Linked DNA regions of Homo sapiens: all the other regions are linked to region 6. The links are contacts of gene promoters, found by promoter capture Hi-C in human tissues and cell types (Jung and others, 2019). All regions are on one chromosome and are shown on one strand. The core of a region is centred on a gene start or on the middle of the fragment in contact, and the rest is flanking DNA. Distances in the headings are between cores, read along the strand shown. Region 1 overlaps SPACA7 (sperm acrosome associated 7). Region 2 overlaps LINC02337 (long intergenic non-protein coding RNA 2337). Region 3 has its middle 17 kb from the start of LINC02337. Region 4 has its middle 62 kb from the start of LINC02337. Region 5 overlaps SPACA7 (sperm acrosome associated 7). Region 6 holds the start of SOX1 (SRY-box transcription factor 1). Region 7 overlaps LOC105370373 (a long non-coding RNA gene).

Region 1 (2,921 bases), core at 15-2,514, 330 kb before region 6:
AAACTCAAGGAAAGGAAATTAGACATGTTACCAAAAATATAATCAGGGAAACATGGAAAAAGAAAAGCTAAAAAAACTAAAAGAGGGAAGTGTGTCCCAGAGGTTAAAATACACTCTGAATAACACACTGTGGTGCTGGCCCCTTAGTAGAGGACTGTGCTGCATGGCCCAGACAGGACAGTCACATACAGAAAAACTTTGTGTGTAATACGTGTGGCTTTGCAAATCATGGGACAAAGATGGACTTTTAAAAAAATGGTTCAGGGATAACTGGGTAGCCATTCATAAAAATATAAAATTAGGAACACCTCACACCATGCTCAGAGATAAACTCCAAATGGATCCAAGAGCTAATGTAGCAGATGAAGTCCTATAAATACTGGAGGAAAACAAATTCTTCTTTAGCCTCAGTGTGGAGAAAGACTTTCTAACTCAGAAAGTCAAAAGCTAAAGGCAGTCAGAGATTGATAATTTTGGCTACACAAAAATTGACTTTTTTTGCATGAAAAATTATAAACGTAGTCAAAAGTCAACTAACAAACCCCAACAATTATCCATCTATCATCTATCTGTCTATCTATCATCTCTCTCTCTCTAAAAGTTTGTTCTTAAAATATAAACAGCTTTGAGAAATGAGGCTAAAAGACCAAAAACCTAAAGGAAAATGGGAAATTGTAATGAATGCAACATTTACAAAAGTGGTATAAAAATGGCCCTTAAACATATGAGATGTTTAAACTCACTCATAATGAGACAATTGCAAACAAAAGCAGTACTGAAATACCACTTCTCACCATGATGTTGGTGGAAACCTAATGGCATAACAAGGCATACTGGCGAGGCTGGAGGGAGACAGTCACCTCACACACTCATGCCTCCGTCTCTCCCACAGAGCTCTCAGTGTGGGCAGGGCACATTTACCTTTACTGGAAACACTCTTCTCACTGCCAGGAGACACCTGTGGCCCACGATAATTCTCAGAAGGATCGCCATGGAGATTTGCATTAGCATTGGCTTCTTTAATGACAAATATGGAAAAAATGGGGAAAATGTCCTTGATTACACACTTATAAGCACTTTGGTCATTTATTTATTTAAACATGCTAAGTTGAGATGCTAATATCATTTTCAAGTTTTATTTGAAAATATGTTTTGGAAACTCAATATGTGAATACAGAGCCAGGCCTCATCTGACTATTAAAACTACATATTCACTCCTCCACACGTCCTTTGACCCAACATCCCAATGCTAAGAATTGACCCTGGAGATAATTCCTGACAATATGAAAATACCTGTGCTATAGGCTGCTCACTGCAGCTGTGTTTGAAATGGCAAAATATTGCAAACAATGGAAAGATACATACAAAAAATAATGACTGCAGAACTGGGGTAGGAAGAAAGGAGTGCGGGCAGGAAAGGAGGATTTGCACGGATCTGTGATTTGCACAGAAGTGTTTCCTAGCTCTTTCTGTGGAGAGGGCCTGGAAGAAATGCTGTGCCATTGAACTTAGCAAGCATCCAGTTCTTGGCTCACAATCAGTAACGGTGTTAGTGTTTTATAACCCACAGACTATAGTAATCCCTAGTAGCCCATGTAGACAGTAATAAGCAACCGAATACATAAACAGGGGAGGAGGGGCAGCTCTTTCTTAAAGCAGAATCCCAATTAATAAATGGAGAAGCAATGGCAGAAAGAGAAACTCGCCAGTTGGCAAACACCACACTGACCACCAGGCAGACAAATTTGGAGGTATTCATATTAATTTTAAATAAAATCTTATTCCTGTTTAAGTCCTGAAAAAATCGAGTTCAATCTTTCCCAACTCCAGAGTCTGTCTTATTGGGGGGACTCTTTGGGGTAATGGATTGGGATGCAGATTCCTGGGCTCCTACAGAAATGCTTGGCTCCTGGCACACCATCAGATACTGGAGCTGTGACCTGGTCCTGTGTGTGGGGAACACCACAGATGTCCTACATGTGTGTCCCAGTGATATGGTTTGGCTCTGTGTCCCCAACCAAATCTCATGTCTAAATGTAATCCCCAGTGTTAGGGGAGGGACCTGGTGGGAGATGATTGGATCATGGGGGCAGAGTTGCTCCTTGCTGTTCTCATGATAGTGAGTTCTCATGAGGTCTGGTTATAAGTGTGTGGCACCTCCCCCTTCACTCTCTCTCTCCTGTCTCCATGTGAAGATGTACTTGCTTCCTCTAGGGTCTTCTGCCATGATTGTAAGTTTCCTGAGGGCTCCCAGCCATGCCTCATGCACAGCCTGCAGAACCATGAACAAATTAAACCTCTTTTCTTTATAAATTACTCAGCCTCAGGTAGTTCGTTGTAGCAGTGTGAGAATGGACTCATATACCTGGGTATATATATGTGCCCTTTCTGGTTTTGAATCTCCAGGGTAAAGAGGAGGTATTTTGCCCCTCCATGGGGTCCAAGTATCTTATCCTCTGAGCCTTTGCACACTGATTTTTTTCCCAGCAGACTCATCTGTTGGAGGGAGGCTTTTCCCTACTTCTGGGGGACCCCCCTGGGGGCACTCTGGCTCTCTCTGCACCTGCCCTGTGAAGGAGAAGTGACTTAGCTGAAGCTTTGGGAGAGGGGGCCAGGCATTGTGGCAGCACCTGCCTCCCTGTCTTGGCATCTGCCTGCCCATGAGACATTTCTGCTGTGCTTCCCTGGGCTGTGTTTTTTCCAGGGTCGGCCCCACAGCAGGGGGTGAGGAAGCTGGGGGTCCCTCAGCCCCGACAGAGACTGGGAGATCTGCCCAACCAGGGGAAGTGGGCACATTCTCCCACCAAGGGTTTATCCTCCAGGAAGGAGATGTTTCCGCCTGCGTCTGCCTGCCTCCTACCTCTCCCATTACAGCTGGACTTGGGAAGGGGTAATTACTGGGTTGCATTTACCATCATTGG
Region 2 (2,970 bases), core at 177-2,676, 430 kb after region 6:
ATCTTCTGGAGGCCACTTGGGCATTGGGGGGCTGGTTGTAAAGGTATCATTAACTTAGATTTGTGAAAATATGGAAACGTTTCCATATGTGGAACTCATAAGAAGCTAACTAAAAATGAAGCTTTAAGAAAGAAGTAGCAATAAATATTTTTTCTCTAAACATAAGGGATGAGAAAAATACACATGCTTTTTCAATTCCTGGACACAATCTGGCCTGTTCTGCCGCCTGGTGCCTCTTCTTCCCAGGCTGCCCCTGGTCTATGCAGTCAGCACAGTGAGGATGTAGGAGCCTGGCCCCCAGACCCCATGTGTCTCACCACCACCGTGCCGAATGCCCCACTTCACAGATCTGTAAAAGTGGAGGCAGAAAGGGAAAACACAGGGCTCACGCACGTGTGCACACCTGGATTAGAAAAAGAAATATTACTTGGTCTGTTTAAATATTTTGCTTTGAGTTTAAATGAAACAATTGATTCAAAGGAAGGTAGGAACGGTGTGCCCCTGTGGCCTGGGCCCAGGGCTCTGTGTGCGGGCATCTCCCAGCTGGGCTTTGACAATTACTTGAGAAGTGGCCAAAATAGACATTAATGGTCATTCTTGGATGGGAGCAGGTTGTGAGCGATTTCCCACTCATGCATGGCGGTCCTGCCAGCAGAGATGCTGGGGACATGGTGTTCCAAGGCTGCCCTGGAAGGTCGTCTCCCAGAGCTGCGTCCTTGGCCTCTTTTCCCAGCTCCACCTGAGGAAAGGGCTGGCCCAGAGAAGACGGGAGAAATCTGGGCAACGATCCAGAGCGTTCCCTATGAGCAGAATTTACAGAGTAAAGCCCAAAGCAAAGCATTCACTTCTCCCCTCAGTTGCCATGGCCCCAGGGAGCGGGTCACAGTGCCACATGGCCTAGAGGGAGGGAGCCAGGCTCCTGGGTCAGCCAGCATCAGCCATGAAGTCAGGATGAAAACCAGCCCTGGAAGGCCTGCTGCAAACCACATCCAACCCTGCCTCAGAGCGGGCACCAAGACACGAGATGCTGGACAGCGGTGGGGTTCAGTGGAAGGCTAACCTTGCGCTTGGTTTTTAAAGGTTAATTTATTTATTTTTTAGAGACAAGGTCTTGCTCTGTCACCCAGTCTGGAGTGCAGTGGTACAATCATAGCTAGCTGCAGCGTCCAACTCCTGGGCCTCAAACGATCCTCCTGCCCCAGCCTCCCTAGTGTTTTCTTTTAAAAACAGTTCTTAACCCCCAGAATTGTTCACTGTCTTCCCAAGAAGCTGCCCTGGAGGTGAGCAGCTGGCCAGGCTTTCTGATTGCTTCATCACATCATCTGTTTAATGAGAGTCCAGGTAGATGCAGACAGGGGTCCCAAATCTTCCCCCACACTGATGTTTTTTTCTCAGCCTGAGAAACTGCCAACAGAGAGAAAAGGGTTTTGCATTCTGTGCATGACCAGTCGTGTTTATTAAGAGTTACTAGGAGGGGCTACAGCAATTAGCAGGATACGCGCTGAGGATTCTGTGCGACCCCTCTACTCATGAGAACAGGGCTTTGCCCTTCCCCAAAGCCAGAATTAGGCCCACAAATCTGCCAGCAGCACCTCCAGCAGGCCCCATCTATGCGACATGGTGGTCCTCACAGCCGGGACACTCTTACTTACAGCAGGCACATTGCGGGCAACCTCCCTGACCTTCTTAAGTCCTGGTGGCAATGTCAAAAGGGAGAAGGACAGAGGCATTGAGGAGAGCCTTGGTACCCAAGACAGGAGGGGAGAAACAAATATTGGCAAACACTGTTAAGAGGAGAAAGCACCTGCGACAATTCGTGCTCTGAAAGCCTGAAGTCCACGAGGCGTTCACTCCATTTCTATGTGCAGAAGACATTCCCATTCTGCTCCCATCACTGAAGTGATACACATGACAGGATAAAGTCACTTTTAAGCTGAAAATTTGGTAATGTGATCTCTAAAGTAATTCTGAAGCATCTTAGAGTGAATGAATTTACAATTATAAAAATTACTTTTGTAATGCTGGCTGAGCTTGGAGATATGATCAGATGATCATATTGCTAAAATAAAACATGTTAAATTTAACATTATGGCAATTCTGTCATTTCATTCAAGACACCATAAATTGCCACAGCATTCTGGGTGAGCCATTAGCTCACTCTTTTTACTTATGTTCCTTCTTTCTTCTCTTTTTAATCCCAAAGAAATGGCTGTAATGAGTTGCTAATAAAATGACAAATAGGAACAATCTGATTTCATTCAAAGATTGCACATTCAGACAAGACTGACTCTCATTCTGAGAAGGGCTAAAGAAGGCAGCCCTGAGCAGGTAGTACCCTCATCCGTCCCTCTCGTCCAGCTGGGTCTGGTGGGGGTAGACAGACAAAAGGCAAAGGGCCGTCATGGCTGGTGAACACGCTGGGCTCAAGGCCACGGGGAATGTGGCCGTCATTTTCCAGGCTGGGCTCTGCAGCAAAGCCTCTAGTGCAACCCTGGGAGCCACTTTGATTGATCCATGCGGTTTCCATTCCTGATCACCGTCAAGGTCTCCGGAGGTGCTGAGAACTCCAAGCACCCTTGACTGCACTGAAAGGCACTGCTGCACATCATTTGAAACAAACAAGTGCCCACATACCTCACATTTAAACTGATTTTTACTTTAAAGCTTTGGAAGGACTTTATAATTGTTCTTTTGAGAGACAGCATGGGACGGTGCTGAAGTGCCGTGTGGAAAGCCCAGCTCCGCCTTTCCAAGCTGTAGGATCTGGAAAAAAGTTACTTAAAATCTCTCTGCCTCGTCTATAGGATGGAAATAGCAATAGCACTCATCCCATGGGTGATTATGACCAGGAAGTAAATTAACGTAATAGGGACTTGGAGGGAGCCGAGCGCCTCCCAGGCGCTGCTGCGTGCTCCTCTGCACTGCCATTTGGCAGCCGCGAACTCACGTGACTTGCAGCTGGCGAGGCTG
Region 3 (2,834 bases), core at 98-2,597, 490 kb after region 6:
CCTGTTTAGAAACGTAGACTCTTTCTCTGGCAAATCCTGCTTGTGTTCTTGGGCCTGAATTTGGTCCCATAAATATTCCTAAAGCAATCAGTGGCAAGAAAATAGGATTATTACTAATGGCTTGGGTGCTAGAAGGTAATGGGTCAGTACCTTCAAAATCATGATAAAAATTTATCTCTATTCTATACCTTATTAATAAATGATTAATCAAAGTAGAGACAGACAAAGATATTTAAGACTCATGAGCATTCAGGAAATTTACTTCCCATGCCTTCTTTCTGAGGAAGCCACTGCAGGATGCGCTCCCACAAAACAAGAGAGCAAAGCTCCAAAGGAAATAACGTGGGGTCGCAGAAGCTTCATTATCTCAAGCAAAATGTAAGATCCAAAAGTGGTTTAATTCTCAAACTCTTAATGCCTGAGTAAAATTGTAACTTTTCTCTGCCTGGGTGTACAGCATAGTTCCTTAAACAGCCAATATCCTGAATAGTCTGAGGCCGTCCATGTGCCCTTCCACCAGGGCAGTTCTAGGGCTGCTCAGGCCACAGCTCCTTTCAGCAACTCCCCCTCCGTCCTTCAGGGTCACTGCAATGGGGACATTTTTTCATTCAAAGGGGCTAGCAGAGCACTTTGCACATTGTTGGTCTTAACTTTTTTTTAATTCAAGTAACAAGAATAGGTGTTACTTTTCTGATGAAAAAAATAACTTTCAAGTCAAAGCAGTGTCGAGTTATATATCCCCAAAAATGGAAAGCAGGGACCCCAATAGATACTTGTCTGCCCACGTTCACAGCAGCATTATTCTCAACAGCCAAGAGACAGAAACAATCCATGTTCATCACAGATGAATGGATGGACAAAACGTGGCGTGTACATACCTTAGAATAAACACTCAGTCTTAAAAAGGGAATGAAATTCTGATTCACGCTACAGTGTGGATGAACTTTGAGGGCATTATGCTATGTGAAGTAAGCCAGTCACAAAAGGACAGATACAGTACGATCCCACTCATATGAGGTCCCTCGAGTTGCCCCATTCATGGAGACAGAAGGTAGAATGGGGGCTGCCAGGGGCTGGGGGCCAGGGAAGGGAATGAATGTTTAATGGGTGCAGAGCTTCAGTCTGAGATAGTGAAAAGTTCTGGAGATCGATGGAAGTGATGGTTGGACAATGTAAATATACTTAATGCCACTGAACTGTATGCTTAAAAATGGTTAAAGTGGTTAATTTTATTTTGTGTATATTTACCACAGTAAAAATCACTAAAAAAAAAAAAAAAAAAATCAGAGCAATGAGTCTGCTCTGACAGTAGTTTCAAATGTAGCCTTAAGAAGTCACTTAACTTCTTTGGGCCCCAGATAGCAAAAAGCTAGTTTGAGACAAGCCTATTTGTATTATATATGTTAAAGCAGCAGAACCAATTTTGTGTGTGGGTGTGTGTGTGTGTGTGTGGGTGCGTGAAATCTGATGCACACACCCTAAAACACTAGGCTGCTGTTGCTATGACCGGCTGCGGCAGTTCCGTGTGGACCACGAGGCCAGGTCAGAGCTTCTCTGATCACATCAGCCCCCCGACACACCCAGGAGATTCACTGAATACAGTTTAAAAGCCACGGAAAAGTGTTATCAGTTCAGACTCCTTCACTTCCAAATATTTATGACTTCATCATTTATTCCATGCTAAGAATGAAAAACATCTAATAAAGAACCTACTCATGGCTGGGCGTGGTGGCTCATGCCTGTAATGCCAACACTTTGGAAGGCCGAGGTGGGCAGATCACCTGAGGTCAGGAGTTCAAGACCAGACTGGCCAACAGGATGAAACCCTGTCTCTACTAAAAATACCAAATATTAGCTGGGTGTGGTGGTGGACACCTGTAATCCCAACTACTCGGGAGGCTGAGGCAGGAGAATCGCTTGAATCCGGGAGGCGGAGGTTGCAGTGAGCCGAGATCACATCATTTCACTCATACCTGGACGACAAGAGCGAAACTCCATCTCGAAACGAAACAAAACCAAACCAAAAACAAACCGAAAAAAAAGAAACTACTCATGAATAGACAGCAACACCCAAGGACAGCACTCTGGCACCTCATGCTACCCACAGCACCTACCAAGAAGATAATTAATCAACCCTGTCCTCGCCTGTTTAATGTCTGGCTGCCCAGGGAAAATGCATGCACCACAGTATCGGATCTCGCCTGCACCTGTCTTTCCAGCACAGCATAGCCCTTAGCTCTGCCCCCAGGCACATGGTGGAACCACACTTCCTGACTCCCTTGTGTGCGGGGGACACATGTATAATTCAAGCCAACGGACTGCGAGTGAAAATAACCCCCGTCAACTCCAGCCCACAGCACTGAACTGCTGCTGGAGGGAGGTCTTCCAGAACTCCCATTCTCTCATTCCACAACCAGCAATTTCCAGACAGTGTGTTGTGGGGTACGGGTGGAGGACAGGGCCCAGCCGAAACTCGGGGTCTGCATTGTGTGTGTGAGCGATGACTGCTGTGTCAGGCCGCTGAGACCGGGGCTGCGGTGGCCTCACCTAGCTGAGCTTTCCCTGACCACTCTGTCCCCAGTGCCTGGGACACAGCGTGCACCCTGATGTGTGCCCAGTGAATGAATGGATATATATGAGTATGTTGTAATAACATGAAGTCTAGAATGGGGCTATCCTATCCAAACATACCTGATGAGCTAATTATTACCATCTGGATGATGTGCAGCACCCATTAGCAATTCAAGAGTCTATACTCCTGAGAGTCCAGCTATTGTGATCTCACCCATCCCTAGGACCGACCACCACGGGTGAGAGCCACCTGACTGACATCC
Region 4 (2,907 bases), core at 301-2,800, 410 kb after region 6:
CTCTCTGAGGCTCAGCTCCTTCATCGGTTCAGCGGAGATGCTCAGGACACTTCCCTCAGATCGTTAGGGAATGAGCGAAGAGGCGGATGCAAACGCCCACTCAGCACAGATTCCAGCCCTCAGCAAATGCCTAACAAACAGCAGCCCCAACCACCATCTGTGAGCCAGTCTCTGCTGACTTTGAATGTCACATACCTAGCATGTTTCTGCCAGTTATTGGTAGTGTTATCAATAAACATCAGAATTAGAACCTAAGCTTCTTTTCCTTGAAATTAATTCACATTAATTGAAAGTGTGAGCTAGAAGTGAAACTCTCATGGGCAATGGACATTTCAGGTGCTTTCAATTCTGGCTTTTCTGCTGGATGTACTTCTTCCTAATAGTGAGAAACGCAGAGGGAAGACATGAGAAGGAGATGGAATTCGCATGCCCCGGTAGTATTTATTTTAGGTCACTGGCGCCCCTCAGTAATGAAGGTCATGGAAGAGCCCAAATGTCAATAAGAAGGTCTTCAGGTGGCAGATTCCTGCTTCGGTTCCAGCCCCCTCCTTGCTGGAGTCAGACATCAGGAAAAGAGATACAGTCCTCAACTGGAGTGTTGACAAAGCCGGTTGGCATCCCAGTGGAGATTAGGTTGCTGATCTTGTAAGGATCAGCTACTTACTCCAGGATGTTTACACTGGCATTGATGTAGTGACATACTGATCTAATTACATGTCAATAAACCAAAGTCCTGATTCACTGAGGAGACCACAGAGGATTAGAGGGCTCCATTGGCAATTCTTAAAGAACAAGGACTCAACCTTCAGACTCAATTACAGCAAAGTTAGCCAACTGTAAAGCCGTGGCTTGGAGGGAGAGAGAGAGAGGGAGAGAGGTCAAGCTCCATTTCATAACCTCCCTTGGACCTGCCTTTCTTGTTGTTGTTGCTGTCAAGCTTTCTGTTTTTCTGAAGCTTGTTTTCACCCAGCTATTGGCTCTTGTTACATAATCTATATAACTGATAGATTCCAGAGACTTAGTGCAGAGCAGGAGAAAAACAATGCTCATCCGATTGCAAATCAGCACCGGCCTGCCCACACTTCCCCTGCCTGCCTCCTGCACCACGCACTGGAAACGCAGCTGCCTGCACAAAGGAAGCTGGATTCCCGGGAGACCTTAACAAAGAGGTATCAGAAGAGAGAGGCGGAATGCATTCAGCCTTCCCGGGCCTGCTGCCTGGGCCCTGTGGCCGCCGTGCCTGGAGCAAGCAGGGATCCTCAATCTTTGCTGAAATGCATCATGTTTGGGGAGAACGATTTGAAATGGGGACTGGTTTGGTTGGCCTGCTGTGCCTGGGTCTTTAATGTCAAACAGTCAACAATTGTGCAGTTTTATTTATTAATCAGAGTTTTGCTTTGTTGCATTTTGAAGTTCCCCACACTGTGGGTTGAGAGCAGATTGGAAATATTTCAGAAGTGCAGTTCCATGTCCCTAACAGAACTTAGCAGATCATATAGATGAGAGAAAGCAAGGGAAGTGCCAGGCATAACCTCTAGTGCAGGCGTCAGCAAACTTCTTCTCTGAAAAAAGAAGTAATAAATAGTTTTGGCTTCTCAGGCCACACAGTCTCCATTGTGGCTACTCAGTGCTGCCAGTGCAGCTCAAAAGCAGCCCCAGATATGCAAATGCTTGGGTGTGGGGTTGTTCCAGTCAAACTTTATTTAGGAACATTGAAATTTGAATTTTATATAAATTTCATGTGTCATGAGATACCATGCTTCTTGTAATTTGTTTTCCAACCACTTAAAAATGGAGAGACCATTCTGAGATCACCAGCCGTACAAAGCCAGGTGTGGGCTACCATGAGTTGGCCCCTGCTCTGATGGTTAGCAGGGCTTTGACAAACTGGAACTTCCTGGTTCTAAGGTAAGGATGCTATGCCGATGACCTGAAAGTGGTACCTGTGCTTAGAAAAAAGCTAGATGTGGGTTTTCTACTCCCCAAAACTCACCTAGCCTAATCTTTTCATGGTTGATGGAAATTGGAGCACACATCTTACAGGATGTCTGGCTTCCTGCTGGACATCATGAGACGATCTTTTCTAGTCCTCAAAGAGGCTGCTAACAAGTCCATGCAACTAGGGCAGACAGTAAAAGCAGAAATGAGAGTAAAGAGGTTGCTAGTCTTTTGTGAAGGTCTGGTTGCTGGCATAAACTCCCAGTGTCTTTCGGCAATCAGCTTTCTGCTGCATGTTTGCATTCCAGGAGCCAGGAGACTCTCCAGGCATTTTGGACAGACCACGCCTCATCTCTGATGATGCCCTCAGGCTTCACAGGTGCGCTCTCATGGACATAGCAAGGCTGAGGCGTGACTGCTGGGCAGAGGTGAAACTATGAGGAAGGAGGAGGCTCAGAGGAGACACTTCAAGACAAAAAGAAGTCTTTCTTGGTGCTGCTGAGGGACAGAGGTGAGAGGAAGAGGTAAAGTGGTGATGGTGAAGTTTCTGGAGCATCCTTCCTGGGCACGGAGTGAGGCTGCAGGTTCTACTCCTGGGCAGCCGCGGTGGCTGCCAGTGGTGATGGCGAAGTTTCTGGAGCACGCTTCGTGGGCACGGAGTGAGGTTGCAGGTTCTACTCCCGGGCAGCTGCAGTGGCTGCCAGTGGTGATGGTGAAGTCTCTGGAGCACCCTTCGTGGGCATGGGGTGAGGCTGCGGGTTCTACTCCTGGGCGGCCGCAGTGGCTGCCAGTGGTGATGGTGACGTTTCTGGAGCCCCCTTCCTGGGCACGGGGTGAGGCTGCAGGTTCTACTCCTGGGCGGCCACGGTGGCTGCCAGTGGTGATGGTGACGTTTCTGGAGCGCCCTTCGTGGGCACGGGGTAAGGCTGCAGGTTCTACTCCTGGGTGGCCGCAGTGGCTGCCAGTGGT
Region 5 (2,825 bases), core at 127-2,626, 310 kb before region 6:
CAAGATTCTGACCTTCTCTAAACTGCTCCTAAGATCAGTGCTTGAGATATTTTGCAGATCCTGCCCTTGATGGATCAGCCGGCACCACCCAGATGGATAAAGTGGCTCATCTGATCTTGTGGCCCCCACCCGGGAACTGACTCAGTGCAAAAAGACAGCTTTGACTCCCTGTGATTTCATCCCTGATCAGTCAGCACTCTTGCCTCACTGGCTTCCCTCCACCCACAAAGTTATCCGTAAAAACTCTGTTTCCCGAATGCCTGGGGAGACTGATTTGAGTAATAATAAAACTCTGGTCTCCTGCACAGCTGGCTCTGCGTGAATTACTCTTTCTCTATCGCAGTTCCCCTGTCTTGAAGAATTGGCTCTGCCTGGGCAGGGGGCAAGTGAACCCCTTGGGCAGTTACAATAGCGTGTCTGCATTTTTTTTTTTTTTTTTGGGGGACAGGGTCTCATTCTGTCAGCCAGGCTGGAGTGCAGGGGTGTGATCATGACTCACTGCAGCCTCGACCTCTTGGGCTCAGGTGATCCTCCCATCTGAGCCTCCCAAGCAGCCAGAACTATAGACACATGCCACCACACCCTGCTAATTTCTGCATTTTTTTTGGTAGAGATGGGGTTTCACCATATTTCCCAGGCTGGTTTTAAATTCCTGGGCTCAAGTGATCCACCAGCTTTAACCTCCCAAAGTGCTGGGATTAGAGGTATGAGCCACTGCACCCAACCTGTGTTTGCCTTTTAAAAACAGTTTCTAAACATCTTTTTGGTGACTCATCACCCTGGCGTCATGATCAGTTAAGTAAAACAAGAGTTTCATTAATAATTTTTAAATAAGATAAGCTATTGAAACACTCAGTACTAAGCAAAGTTTTCTTATTTTATATGATACAGAGAGACTAAATGTATTTGAGTCTGTTAACAAAAGTTGTTTTTGCCACCTTGAAAAATTATGCTGTAGATAAATATATCTCTAAAAATTGTAAGATGGTATAGTCATACAATTTGCTACTTTGTTACAGAATGCTATATGTGACACAATTCACAACTGTCTACTCCTAGTTTTCTCTGTTGAACATTGTAATCAACATAATCAACATGTGTAATTAAAACTATTGGAAATAATGAGGGTGAAGAAAAACAACTTCCTGTGCAAAGTATAAAGGAAAGTAAGATCTGTTTTTGATAAGAAAGCTTATGTGATATGAAGAATGTGTTTTTGTTGACGAAAAAAGTGAGTAATTTTGTCCTACAGTGGTTTAAAATTTGTTTTTTCAGGAAGAGAAAAAACCGGACAAAATGCGTAAATTAGTATGGAAAGATGTAACGAGTCTCTGAGAAAAAAAGAGAGAGAAAAATCTTATGTGGTGAAGATACACTAGCAGTAAATGAATTTTATTATAAGATTTTATAGATGAGCTTTAGTATCAAGAGTGTAGCAATGCAGTACTGGAGTTTGATTTTCTCTGTCTGCTAAAAGGCCAAAGTTTTGTTGAATTATTGGTCTGGTTTTTTTTTTTTTTTTTTTTTTGAGACTGAGTTTTGCTCTTGTTGCCTAGGCTGGAGTGCAATGGCGTGATCTTGGCTCACTGCAACCTCCACTTCCTGGGTCCAAGTGATTCTCCTGCCTCAGCCTCCCAAGTAGCTGGGGTTACAGGCATGCACCACCATGTCTGGCTAATTTTGTAGAGATGGGGTTTCACCATGTTGGTCAGACTGATCTTGAAATACTGACATCAGATTATCCGCCCATGTTGGCCTCCCAAAGTGCTGGGATTACAGGCATGAGCCACCACGCCAGGCCTGGTCTGTTCTTAATAAGAGATTGTAAGAGGTACTTGTTTCTTACCTGTTGAGTAGTCTTACTAGGAAACAAAGATTCTGTGTCTTATCAAATATTTCCTGTGTTTCATGTTTTCTTTATCATGTTTTTGATTACTTAAGAAAACTGAGTCTCCTCAATATTAAAAGAGCTAAATTGTTTTAAAAACCATGCTACTTCCTATATTTTCTTTAAAAATTCTTTACTGTCATTTAACTTAAATGGATAGCTACCATTTCATAGTAACTTATGATCCTATTTAACCAAATATTCAAAACTTTTATAATTTTTGACAACTTCATCCAAGTAAAATTCTAAATGAAGAATTTTGACCTCAAACTAATTTTGAGATTTCCCAGAGGGCCACTAGAAAATCTCAAAGGATTTGTTCTCTCACTTGGTGAAAAGAAAGATGTTAAACTAATTAGCTTTATTTGATACATTAAATTCGTAAAAAGCATTGTCAAATAAGGGATGTTTAACCTTCTTTATATTTGTATGCATATATGTTATAAGTGTTTCAGAAATTGTATTAAATTCCTAGAAATTTTCACTGTCCTTACTGTCCATGATATGTCCTGGTATAAAGTTATGAGTCCTAATTTCCGTTATTGTCTTGTAATGTTGTATGTCACAGAAACAACCAAATTTCCTTGTCAATTGCAGCATAATGAACTCTCATCAGATTTTTAACCATGGCCATTTTATGCATTTTATGTCTTTTGTCATTCAAGACAATTATTGTTTTACTCTGATGCTTTTTTGAAAGCTTTTGCAATCAGCTACAGTCCAAAAATTCTTTGTCTTCAAGGAGATTTTTAGGTAAGACTCTGCCAAGTACTCTGGAGTAAGGTTTCTGACGCCTCTAAGATTGCACTATTAGACTGGACTTTTCCAGAACTCAGGGAGACATTGACGGATTTGTAAACCTGCTAACCCAAGATCAAGTAGAACAAGAATTAATGATGTGGGACTCAATGTGGGGACGATTATAATTTTTCTGAAT
Region 6 (2,987 bases), core at 56-2,555:
GTAGCCCTGCGAGTTGGAGATGGGGCTGTACTGCAGCGCGCCCATGTCGTAGCGGTGCATGGGCTGCGGGTTGTGCGGGTGCGCGTGCGGGTGGTGCGGGTGCGGGTGCGCGGGGTGCGCGTGCGGGTGCGCGCCGCCCGCGCCCGGGTGCTGCCCGTAGGCCAGCTGCGCCTCCTGCATCATGGCCGCGGCCGCCGCCGCCGCCGCCACCGAGCCGGGGTAGGCGCCGTTGGCCCAGCCGTTGACGTGCGCGTAGCCGCCGCCCGCCGCGCCGCCTGGGCTCTCCAGGCGCTGGCCCACGGCCGCCGCGCCCACGCCCACGCCCACGCCCATGGCCACAGCCGCGCCGCCGCCACCCGCGCCGGCCGCCAGGAGCCCGCCGGCCAGCGAGTACTTGTCCTTCTTGAGCAGCGTCTTGGTCTTGCGGCGCGGCCGGTACTTGTAATCCGGGTGCTCCTTCATGTGCAGCGCGCGCAGCCGCTTGGCCTCGTCGATGAACGGCCGCTTCTCGGCCTCGGACATGACCTTCCACTCGGCCCCCAGGCGCTTGCTGATCTCCGAGTTGTGCATCTTGGGGTTCTCCTGGGCCATCTTGCGCCGCTGCCCGCGGGACCACACCATGAAGGCGTTCATGGGCCGTTTGACCCGGTCCTGGTTGGCCTTGGCGCCCCCGCCGCCGCCGCCGCCCCCGCCTCCGCCCCCGCCGCCGCCCGCCCCGGCGGGGCCCGAGAGGTTCGTGGGGGCCTGGGCGCCGCCGGGCGAGTGCAGGTCGGTCTCCATCATCATGCTGTACATCGGGGCGGCTGGCGGGTTCACCGGCACCGCGAGGAGAGGGCCTGGAGCATAGACGGCCGGGGTGGGAGGGAGACGGAGAGGAATTCAGACGGAGTGAGACGGGGGCGGGGGGGTCCTAGCGGAGAGAAGAATGGGGAGGGGTGGAGGCAACGACAACAAAAAAAGGCAGAAACACACGCACTCGGCGCCGGTTCGGCTCGCAGGTGGAAAGTTTCTCCTGATGCACAAACCACTTGCCAAAGAGGCCGACGGTCGGGGTCGCCGTCTTCGCCGCCACCGCAGCCCAGGCGCCCTCGGCGGAGCGGTGCAAACAGGTGCAGTCGTGGCCAAGTTGCAGCTCCGCTTTTGGGGCCGGGAGCGGTGCGCTGGGCCCGGCCCGGGGTGTGCTGTCTCCTCGCCGGCCGCCGCTGCGCGCTGTCTCCTTCCTCCTGCGCTCGGTCCTCAGCGGCCTCCAACTCGGAGGCTGCAACTTCTAGCAGGGCGGCGCGCCGCGTGCGCTGGGCATGTGCTGGTCCCAGGTGCCCGGGGGAAGCCAGGCGCCAGTGGCGGGGGGGGGGAGGCGCAGGGGGGCCTGCAGGGGGCGATTACGGTGCAGCCAGGGAGGGGCCCGGGGACAGCGGGAGGAGCGCGGGCTCGCGGAGAGGGCCGGAGAGCCGGGGCCGCCGAGCCCGGGATGGGCTGCCCGCTGCCTGCCCGGGGCCGTGCGCTCGGAGCGGAGGCGCACGCGGGGCCGGCGGCGCGCGGGGCCCAGCAGCCATACGCCGGGCCCGGGCTGCCATTAAATGAGCGCGCCGCGGCCAATGGGAGCCGGCGGCGGCGGTGATTTGCATGGCGCGCTGGCGAGTGACGTGGGGAGGGAGTAGATACACTGGGCGCGGGCGGCGGAGCGGGGAGGAGGGGAGGAAGGAGGGGGAGCAAAGCAGGAAGGAGGGGGGAGGAGGCCCGGGAGGGGGTGACAGCCACACCGCTTCCTGAGCGCGCGCGCGCGGCGGCGGCGGCGGCGGCGAACCCCGAGCTCGCCCTCCTCGCCGCTCCCCGCCCGCGCGTTCCGAATGATTAACGATTGGGTTGAAAAGCGAAGACTAAGAAAGGATCGTCGTGGGGTGGGGGGAGGAAACGCAGCCCCTGGCCAGGTTTAAACGGGCGCAGTGGAGACCCAGCTCCTCCTCTGCCCCCGCCGGCCAACTCTGTGCCTGCAGGGAAGGGGAAAGTTGAGTGCGGGGCTGGCACGTCGCCCTCAGTTCCCCCGAGTGCTGAAAAGGAGGGGCGCTCCCTTGGACGCAGGGGATACCCTCCGAGGGCCCCTGCAGGTTCTCTGCAAGGATCAGGCGGCTCAGCCATCCCCCGCCCTGCATCCGTTCTCGGCCGCGGCGTGCACTGAAGTTCGCCAGTGCCCGCTCTTGCAGCGAAGGCCTTCACAGTCCAGGCCCCACAATTCGGGTAAAGGGGGAGTATTTGTGTGGGCATGGCTCCATAGCTTCGTTTAGTATCAGCCCTAAACTTTTGTGGGGAGGAGTCTTTCAATGAGCCCGGGGCCATAGTCACGCACTCTTCCCAACCCGGATCTTCTTCCTCTGGAAAAGGAATTTCTAGGAAGGCCGAACACAACAAGATCTATCTGGAATCTAGTTCCTGAACAACAGTTGAAAAAGTTTGTTGAATCGCAAAATAATGATATGGCGCACGCTTTTCTGGAGTGAATTTCCCACGAGCTGGTTGCCTAAGAACGGAGAAAACTGCGTGAACTGCGCGGGGCCACATAAACCGAATGAAAGGCGGGGCCTCAGGACGGGTCTCAGCCGCCGGTCTGCGTCATGCAAAGGAAAGGCCTGGCTCGTGGAAAGAGTAAGGCATTCACCTGTGGTTATCATTCTTAAACCTCAAAGTGGCTTTGATTTGGGAACGTGAAAGAGATTTTCAAACGCAGTCTCAAGTAGCATAGCGCTCACACTACCGTTTCCACCAGACTGATCTGAAAGTGGTCCAAAGACGACTTTTGAGCCCAAGTATTCCTCCTCTGCCCTCCCCGAGGCACCCTGAGATGAGAGTGCTTGTGGAGATTGGTGGTGGGTAAAGTAGAACCTTCACCGCATGTCACATGTCTGCCTGTCTTGTAGTAGGAATATTCAGTAAAGATGATGATAACGGTAATAGGAGTAATAGGATGTTTGAGTCTGTTGGGCAGCGAACAC
Region 7 (2,962 bases), core at 160-2,659, 300 kb before region 6:
ATTATAATGTAAACTGTTTTCTAAATGAAAGAATTAAAGGAATGTAATTGGAGAAGTATACAAATAGTGGTTAATATGCTGCTTCTTGCAAAGGCATATTACAACTTATAATCTTCCTTTATGGATGTATGTTGTTAGTGCTTAATCAGGCATGTGAATGTATTCAGGTGTTAAACCATTCTATTAGCTGGGAAATTGCACTATTATTTGCTGAGCTGTTTATGTTATATTGTTGTTGGCTCTCTGAGTTTCTCTTTCTCTCCAAGCTTATCTTACTCTGGTCTCTGCAATCTGTATAATTGTCTTCTTTACTTTTGTCTTTAGAAAGCTTTAAATAGAGATACTGGGAACGATTAACTGTGTCAGAATCACAAAGTTCTGCTGCTTTACAGATTAATTGTAGAGACATTATGCCGATGCTTTAAAAGGCAGAAAGAACCTGGATGCAGAATGGAGGGTCACAGCAGGATCGTGGCCAATGACACTTCCTGCCCAGGAAGTGTCCACAGGAGGAGTCTTTGAAGACTAGCAAGAAAATGCAGGGCACCTTCCTGGATGCATCAACCTTGACCTCAGTGGTCTATAATAGCCCTGCAGTCCAGAGGTCCCGCTACTAGAAATTCTAAGTGTTGGAGACAAAAGTGAAATGCCAAGGGGGAATGCTGTCTCCTCTGGGAAAGCAAAATATTTACCTGAGAAAGAAAATCTCCTAAAAGCTTTCTATACCATCCATCCATCCATCCAACCATCCATCCATCTATCCATCTATCCATCTTCCCTTCCCTTCCCTTCCTTTCCCTTCCCTTCCCTTCCCTTTCCTTTCCTTCCTTTTTCTTGTCTTCTTATGGAGTATGTCTGCTGAGAGGATCAGATTACATGGAATCAGATTAATTGTAGATTTCTACATGTGATACAATCCAGTATATTGGCCACGATTGGCTATGAAACCAGTAGCACAAAATGGCAGAGTTTCCCAGGATGGCCAAGACTGGCCTGGAAAATCTGGGCAAGTGTGTTCTCTGAGACCAATTCCATATATTCAGGCTCCGTTTTGTATTAGTTTCTTGAATTCAAATAAAGAATCCAATGTTGCTTTAAGAAATAATTTTGGCAAAATCAAATACAAAATACATTGTATGAGGATGGAGTCACATCACAGTGAAAGAAAAAAATACTTGATTACATAGAATTATTAATTGGAAAACTAGGAGAAAAGTGTTGATCATGAGTTCGATGTAAAACTGTGCTAGAAATGTTTATCAAGACCTACTATTTGTAAAACACATTGCTATGGAGTTAGGCCTCTGTTAGCAGAGTTTAAATTCAGTTTTTCTTTCAAAGAATATCATTAGCTGGCAGGACAAACAGGGAAACAGGGTTAAAGAAACTTTAAAGATGTTTCCTAGCCATGTTCCCATCAATACGTTTGCTCAAGTCTAACAGCTGTTATTCCCGATAGCTACTGAATGCAGACAGCATGGTTAAATGCCTAGACATTCTTTGTGGAGTACAGTCATAAATTCACAGTTGTCGGTGCTCCAACTGTTGGAACTAAGAGTGACTAAGAATTAAAACTGGGAATCCCGGAAGTCCTGACCAGAGAAATCAGGCAAGAGAGAGAAATAAAAGGCATCCTAGCAGGGAAAGGGGGAAGTCAAATTATCTGTTCTCACTAATGCGATTTGATACCTGGAAAACCCCAAAGACTCTGTCAAAAGGCTCCAGAACTCATACATGACCTCAGTAAAAAGTTTCAGGATACAAAGTCAATATACAAAATTCAGTAGCATTTCCAATAACATTTGAACTGAGAGCAAATCAAGAACATAATCCCATTCACAATAGCCACAAGAAATAAAATACCGAGGAATACATCTGACCAAGGAGGTGAAGGATCTCTACAAAGATAACTACAAAACGCTGCTGAAGGAAATCATAGATAACACAAACAAATATGCTTATGGCTTGGAAGAATCAGCATCATTAAAATGGCACGATGCCCAAAGCAATGTGCAGATTCAACACCATTCCTATCAAACTAGCAATGTCATTTTTCACAGAATTAGAAAAAAAAAACTATTCTAGAATTCACGTGGAACAAAAAAAGAGCCCAAACATCCAAAGCAATCCTAAGCAAAAAGAACAAAGCTGGAAACATCACATTACCTGATTTCAAACTATGCTATAAAGCTACAGTAACCAAAACAGCATGGTACTGGTACAAAAACAGACGTATGGACCAAAAGAATGAACAGATAACCCAGAAATAAAGCTGCACACCTAGAGCCACCTGATCTTCAACAAAGTTGACAAAAATAAGCAACAGGGAAAGGACACCCCACTCAATAAATGGTCCTAGGATAGCTGGCTATCTATATGCAGAAGAGTGCAACTGGACCCCTACCTTTCACTATATACAAAAGTCAATGCAAGACAGATTAAAGACTTAAATATAAGACGACAAACCATAAGAATCCTAGAAAAAAACCTAGGAAACGCCATTCTGGACATTGGCCTTGGTAAATAATTTATGACTAGGTCCTCAAAAGCAATTGCAACAGAAACAAAAATTGAGAAGTGAGACCTAATTAAACCGAAGAGCTTCTTCATAGAAAGAGAAATTATCAACAGAGTAAATAGACAGCCTACAGAATAGGAGAAAATATTTGCAAACTATGCATCCAACAGAGGTCTAATATCCAGAATCTATAAGAAACTTAATGAATTAAACAAGCAAAAACCAAATAACTCCATTAAAAAAGTGGGCCAAAGACATGAATAGACATTTCTCAAAAGAAGACATGCCAATGGCCCACAAACATGTGAAAAAATGCTCAACATCACTGATCATCAGAGAAATGCAAGTCAAAACCACAATGAGATGCCTTTGCACACCAGTCAGAATGGCCATTATTATTATTATTATTTTTAAAGTCAATAAATTTACTCAAGGAATTCCATG

The links. Contacts are between HindIII fragments. The study calls those that stand out against the background at their distance.
Region 1: a contact is called between a fragment that was not itself captured here and the fragment with the promoter of SOX1 in region 6, in 3 of the 25 tissues and cell types used here (spleen, stomach and thymus).
Region 2: a contact is called between a fragment that was not itself captured here and the fragment with the promoter of SOX1 in region 6, in 5 of the 25 tissues and cell types used here (H1 embryonic stem cells, IMR-90 fibroblasts, dorsolateral prefrontal cortex and 2 more).
Region 3: a fragment that was not itself captured here is called in contact with the fragment with the promoter of SOX1 in region 6 in 1 of the 25 tissues and cell types used here (dorsolateral prefrontal cortex).
Region 4: a fragment that was not itself captured here is called in contact with the fragment with the promoter of SOX1 in region 6 in 7 of the 25 tissues and cell types used here (H1 embryonic stem cells, IMR-90 fibroblasts, dorsolateral prefrontal cortex and 4 more).
Region 5: a contact is called between a fragment that was not itself captured here and the fragment with the promoter of SOX1 in region 6, in 2 of the 25 tissues and cell types used here (lymphoblastoid cells and mesenchymal stem cells).
Region 7: a fragment that was not itself captured here is called in contact with the fragment with the promoter of SOX1 in region 6 in 4 of the 25 tissues and cell types used here (H1 embryonic stem cells, liver, mesenchymal stem cells and 1 more).

Annotation. Positions count from the first base shown.
Region 1 is chr13:112,399,165-112,402,085 of GRCh38, reverse strand. SPACA7 (sperm acrosome associated 7) reads right to left here. Exons shown (of 7, transcript NM_145248.5): 4 at 2,913-2,921; 5 at 922-1,017. All of the region lies in intron 2 of LOC105370372 (a long non-coding RNA gene), which reads left to right. Among named protein-coding and RNA genes, the nearest start is that of SPACA7, 24 kb to the right of the region's middle. The HindIII fragment of the contact is 5,032 bases long and covers 1-2,921 here.
Region 2 is chr13:111,640,179-111,643,148 of GRCh38, reverse strand. LINC02337 (long intergenic non-protein coding RNA 2337) reads right to left here. Exons shown (of 2, transcript NR_135814.1): 2 at 1,070-1,404. Among named protein-coding and RNA genes, the nearest start is that of LINC02337, 46 kb to the right of the region's middle. The HindIII fragment of the contact is 3,151 bases long and covers 1-2,970 here.
Region 3 is chr13:111,577,855-111,580,688 of GRCh38, reverse strand. No RefSeq gene overlaps it. Among named protein-coding and RNA genes, the nearest start is that of LINC02337, 17 kb to the left of the region's middle. The HindIII fragment of the contact is 3,908 bases long and covers 1-2,834 here.
Region 4 is chr13:111,656,617-111,659,523 of GRCh38, reverse strand. No RefSeq gene overlaps it. Among named protein-coding and RNA genes, the nearest start is that of LINC02337, 62 kb to the right of the region's middle. The HindIII fragment of the contact is 3,813 bases long and covers 1-2,907 here.
Region 5 is chr13:112,379,109-112,381,933 of GRCh38, reverse strand. All of the region lies in intron 1 of SPACA7 (sperm acrosome associated 7), which reads right to left. All of the region lies in intron 3 of LOC105370372 (a long non-coding RNA gene), which reads left to right. Among named protein-coding and RNA genes, the nearest start is that of SPACA7, 4.2 kb to the right of the region's middle. The HindIII fragment of the contact is 3,218 bases long and covers 1-2,825 here.
Region 6 is chr13:112,065,467-112,068,453 of GRCh38, reverse strand. It overlaps SOX1 (SRY-box transcription factor 1), which reads right to left and starts at 1,305. Exons shown (of 1, transcript NM_005986.3): 1 at 1-1,305. The coding sequence starts at 795. The region is part of intron 1 of SOX1-OT (SOX1 overlapping transcript); the gene reads right to left. The HindIII fragment of the contact is 28,986 bases long and covers 1-2,987 here.
Region 7 is chr13:112,360,756-112,363,717 of GRCh38, reverse strand. It overlaps LOC105370373 (a long non-coding RNA gene), which reads left to right. Exons shown (of 3, transcript XR_944295.3): 3 at 325-2,105. Among named protein-coding and RNA genes, the nearest start is that of SPACA7, 14 kb to the left of the region's middle. The HindIII fragment of the contact is 3,875 bases long and covers 1-2,962 here.